2 separate regions of the Homo sapiens genome follow, and region 2 is linked to region 1. Evidence: promoter capture Hi-C in 16 types of primary human blood cells and fetal thymus (Javierre and others, 2016). All regions are on one chromosome and are shown on one strand. Each heading gives the region's core, a stretch centred on a gene start or on the middle of the fragment in contact. The rest is flanking DNA. Distances are from core to core; before and after follow the strand shown.

Region 1 (2,643 bases), core at 61-2,560:
AACTTAATTTTTTAGGCCCACTTTAAAATTAAATAATTTTGCATAATATATTTAATAAGGCTAAAAATAACTTTATTTTAGACTTATAGTGTTGTCCACTATATTGCTTCATGCTGTTTTTTCGAAATAATTTACAATTATAAATAGACATTGTTGCTCTCACCTTAAGGCAGCAGTTTCTGAGTGAAATTCTTCAAGAAAGTGGAGGCATCATTTCGATATGGTAATAAGCTAGTTATTCTAACATCAACAAGTATGTTTCATGATCAGCGATATACTGATAATTCCCCATGTGTGCTTTTCAAATAGTTTATAAATGCAAAAATATTAGAAGTTGCAGGATCAGGGTTTGAGTCATTTTTTTTCATGTTTCAGCCAGTCCTAAATAAGAGCTGTGAACAACAAGGCTACCTGGTGATTTTGTTTTTTATCTTTTTGTATGTGCATGTGGTTTTTCTGGCTTTTTGTTTTGTTTTGTTTTTGAGACAGGGTCTTGCTCTACCTCCCAGGCTGGAGTGCAGTGGCGTCATCATAGCTCACTGCAGCCTTGACCTCCTGAGCTCAAGCAATCCTCCAGCCTCAGCCTCCTGAGTAGCTAAGACTACAGGCCTGCACCACTGCACCCGGCTAATTTTAAAATTTTTAGTAGACGGGGTCTCGCTCTGTTGCACAGGCTGGTCTCAGACTCCTGGGCTCACGTGATCCTCCCCTGTCAGCCTCCCAAAGCGCTGGGATTACAGGCGTGAGCCACCGCGCCTGGCGATTTTGTTTCCTCTGTACTCTTCGTAGCTCACAATTACGCTAAAAGAACCTTTTTCCCATTGTTAATTCCTTCCATTTCCCTCCCCCACCCGTCGATTCCCCCTATTTTTAGGAAACTCGAAGATGATGTCCTTTCAACGTTCTCTCCTGTATTCTCAAATACAGGATCCAGTCCTAAATATTTTTTAATACATTGGCTAGTTTATTTCTGATGGCATTAAAAGTATCGGCACAACTGTTCCCTGATTTATAAAGCTCACAGATGCTGTATGACCTGTAACATTATACTAGCTAATGAGCTCTCCCGGAACAGTTGACGTGGAAGGAGTTTACTTCCACTTGGTTGCAAGGAGAAAGATGGAGAAAGCGAGAGACGATTGCAAAAAGAAATAACTTAGTCCATTTTCTCAGTGCTGTTTGGGGGCTTTGTGCTAATACTTAAATTGCAGAGGAGGGAGGAGACGGGACTGAGGATGGAGGGGAGCAGAGGAGGCAGGGGCGGAGCCTCGGCGGGCGAATAAAACCCCTCGCTAAAGAGAAGCACGTTAGTGTGTGGAGAAGCCACTCTCCCGAAACCAGAGGGATGGGGCCGGCTGTGCAGTAGAACGGGGATCGAAAAGAGGAAAACAAGGGCACGAAGACCAGCGAGAAAGAAGAGGACACCTGGGAAAGGCGGAAGCAGAAGACGGGGAAGGGAAAAGAAACCCAAAGCAGGTGGAAACCAGATCTAGAGCAACACCGTCAGGTTCACAGTTTGTTTTTCTAGAAGAGAAGAAAGTACCTGAGGATTGCTCTTTTTTCCTACCGTTAATGAAAACTACTTTTGTCTTCATCATAAAAGAAAAAACTAAGGGGAGGTAAAGGCAGTCTCCTGTTTTATTAGGGGGAGAGGTGAAGGGAAATCCAGGCTCACTTTCTGAATAAGCCACTGCCTGGTGCACAGAGCAGAACCATCCTGGTTTCTGAAGACACATCCCTTTCAGCAGAATTCCAGCCGGAGTCGCTGGCACAGTTCTATTTTTATATTTAAATGTATGTCTCCCCTGGCCTTTTTTTTTTTTTTTTTTTTTAGCAACACTTTTCTTGTTTGTAAACGCGAGTGACCAGAAAGTGTGAATGCGGAGTAGGAATATTTTTCGTGTTCTCTTTTATCTGCTTGCCTTTTTTAGAGAGTAGCAGTGGTTCCTATTTCGGAAAAGGACGTTCTAATTCAAAGCTCTCTCCCAATATATTTACACGAATACGCATTTAGAAAGGGAGGCAGCTTTTGAGGTTGCAATCCTACTGAGAAGGATGGAAGAAGGAGCCAGGCACCGAAACAACACCGAAAAGAAACACCCAGGTGGGGGCGAGTCGGACGCCAGCCCCGAGGCTGGTTCCGGAGGGGGCGGAGTAGCCCTGAAGAAAGAGATCGGATTGGTCAGTGCCTGTGGTATCATCGTAGGTGAGTTCCATTCCTTCCCGCGGACCCCTCCTCTCCCCTCTGGTGGTCCTCCTGTGAGATCTTAACCCTTCGAAAGCATTATTGTTCTTCCTATTCCTTAGAAAAGGATTGTCAGTCACCTGAGCTGTAACTCACCTCCACTGGTCAAGTTTGAGAGGCATAGGAAATACATCATACATCTCTTCCTCCAAACCAGGCAAAGATTCTGCCCAGTGTTCATAGAATGGAGCAAATCGTGGTCAGAAACCCGGCTGATGATTAGCATTGCCTGGGAACTCCTTAAAAATACAGGTCCTGGTCTCGACACTTGGAGGTTCTAGTTCAATAGGTTTAAGGAGGGACTGAGGGACCTGAACAAGTTTGTATGCAGCTATTATTCCCAGGCTGGGGATGGGCTTTTAAGGTATATTTGGTAGCTATTTTGCAGTTTTATGTTA
Region 2 (2,643 bases), core at 73-2,572, 1.1 Mb before region 1:
GTCCTTGGCCTCGGCCCCACACACCACACCTCAGCCTCAAAACCCCCGCTCAGGGGCCTAAGAGAGAATTTCCCAACAGGGCTGCCAGCAGTGGGAGCCTTGGATGCCTCTGTAGGGCTACTCCAGGTCCTCCCTGCCCCTCTTCCCCTCAGTGTTCTTTGCCAGGCACAGAGCTCAAGCCTGAGTCATGATTGGGCCCACAGGGGACTCAGGAACACAGCATTGCTCCTGTCAGCAGTTCCAGGCATTCTCCTTTACACTGAATTCTGAGCTTCGGAACCACTCCCTGTCCACTCCCTCCCGGTGCTGCGAGGCCTGGCCCTACAGCCTGGAGTGCAGCCACCCCTGACCAAGCTCCCTGCCCTGGGCTCTAAGATCCCCAACTCCTCCTCCTCATCTCCCACCCCAGCCCAGTGGGTGGGTGCCTCCATGGCTCACCATTTATTCATTCATTCATTCTTTCCCAACTAGTCTCAATACCCTGTTTCATTTCCCTCAGGGGCACTTAGATTCCCTGAAATTGTCTTAGGTGTGTATTTGCTCCTACAGGGACTGTCTCCCCAACTATAATGTAAGCCCTATGACAGCAGGGACCTTGTCTGTCTTGGTCACCACTGTATATTGAGCTGTACTGGCGCTCAATAATTGTTGGTTGATAATTGACTGGCTAAATTATGTTAACGTTAGTTGAGCAACCACCATGGTGCAGGCACCTTGCTAGGTGAGAGGAAATGCAGTCAAATGAGTCCCCTTGGGTAGGTAGTTCACAGCAGGAGCAGAAGTGGGGCGCTGCACCCACAGGATGAGCTATAATGCAGGCACCACAGGACCTGGTGCTGAGAGGAACAGAAGAGGCACTTGACCGAGCCCCAAGCCAGGGCTTCTGCTCACCTACAGCCCCAGCTCCCACTCACTTCCTTTAGGAAGCCCACCCCCATTCTCAGACAGGGCAGCTCCCCATCAGGTGCTCACCCAGCACCATATGCCTCTCCATAAAGGCAGAGCAGTTGACAGAGTTGTCCTTCTACATTTGCTTATGTGATTATTTCCATCATCCAGAAAGTTCGATTAAACAGCCCAGGGCTAGCCTGTATGCTCAGTGAGGCAGGGACTTTGTCTGTGCTCTGCTCACTGTCGCAGCCCCCACCCTAGCGTGGATCAGGCACAGAGGGCCCTCAGTCAGTATTTGTTGGATGGATGAATGGGACAGGGAAAGGGCGAGGCCTGAGTGCTCCCCCAAAAGGAGCGGTTCCTCTTTCCTCCCCTAGAGGAGTATGTCCTTAGCCCCCTGTGTTCATCTACCAGCGACAGCATCCCATCCTTCCCCAGGACCCACAGTCTCACTTTGTTCCACAGCTTCTGCTTCTCACTTGACATAGAACGTCAGGGCTTCTGCCTCCTGGTACCACTCACATCATATATGCCCAAAACCGAATGTGATGGTGCCCCCTGCAGCTGGGCAGCAGCCTTGCCAGGCAGTGAGCTTCTTGGCTACATTCCCACCTCCACCAGTGCTCTGGGCAATTTTTAGCCAACATGTCATTATCATCACCAGTCACCATGCAGTGCCTGGCTCCTGTCACAGAGGCTTCAGTTCTGGCTGGCTCAAGAAGTTTTTCCAGCTTTTCAACACCATTTCTTGGTTGCTTTTCCCTCAACTCTTCCCCAAGAGACGCCAACCTGAGTCAGTACCCACCACACCCTGGGAGAGTTAGAATGCTCTTGTGGGGACTTTCCCTCTGGGGCCCTTCTGTCTTTTAGGGCAACCTTGGGGACCTGCCCTCCCTTCTCACTGGCTAACCTGTTTCGTCTTCTTCCCCAGCCAGGAAGTGTGCTACAGGCACGTGGCAACCCCCATGGGCCATCAAGCAATTTCCCCAGCCTGACTCAGAAGGAACTGGGGAGCAGGGAGAAGAGAAAGAATGCAAGCATTCAAACCAAGTGTCCAAGGAATGGTCAGTTGTGGGGAATGGGCAGTGGAGAGGATCTTCTTGGGCTCTGAGTTACTCTAGTCCCCTGCTCCATCCCAGGGATCAGCATCTTTCAGAACTTCAGAGTGGAGAGACTCTGGTCTCTGAATGTCCACTACTACGTTCTCACAAAGTGGTTGACCAACATATGCTTGAATGCCTCCCACCTCTCATTGAGGCCCATTCTACCTTTGGTAGAATAATTAGCTTTAATTATTAGAAAGTCCTTCCTCATAAAGGATCTACATCCACTCTCTGGTCTTTGGTCTTTGCTCTCAAGATATGCAGAATCAATTCGGTTTCTATTCCAGGAGTTGAAAGACCATTATCATCTGCCCCTTGAATCTTCTCTCCCAGTTCAGTATCTTCATGTCTTCCCTGTGGTCATGGGCTCTTCTCACCATCCTGATTTCTACCTCTGGACTCTACAGTTTGTCTCTGTCCCTCTCAAAATGGGCCACACACTCCTCACAGGGTTTGACTCTCACAGAGTCTGGGGCCTATGAGCCCCATTGTTCTGGGTACTAAAGCTCTCTTAGTGCATCCCAAAGTCATGTTAGTGCTTTTGGCAAGCAGATCACAGTCAATTCTTTCCAATCTCTTATCAGCCAGAGTCCTCCTGTCTTCATACACTATCGTTATTCCACCCCTCACGTATCTCACTCTTGTGCAG

What was found. Contacts are between HindIII fragments. The CHiCAGO score rates a contact against its expected background, and 5 or more counts as called.
Region 2: a contact is called between a fragment that was not itself captured here and the fragment with the promoter of SLC7A8 in region 1, in 1 of 17 cell types (M2 macrophages). The highest score is 6.6, in M2 macrophages.

What each region holds. Positions count from the first base shown.
Region 1 is chr14:23,182,327-23,184,969 of GRCh38, reverse strand. It overlaps SLC7A8 (solute carrier family 7 member 8), which reads left to right and starts at 1,310. Exons shown (of 11, transcript NM_012244.4): 1 at 1,310-2,206. The coding sequence starts at 2,056. The HindIII fragment of the contact is 7,114 bases long and covers 1-2,643 here.
Region 2 is chr14:24,278,607-24,281,249 of GRCh38, reverse strand. It overlaps a transcript of NOP9 not described here. Among named protein-coding and RNA genes, the nearest start is that of RABGGTA, 8.3 kb to the right of the region's middle. RefSeq lists enhancers at 1,236-1,315, 1,656-1,805 and a silencer at 2,363-2,593. The HindIII fragment of the contact is 3,842 bases long and covers 1-2,643 here.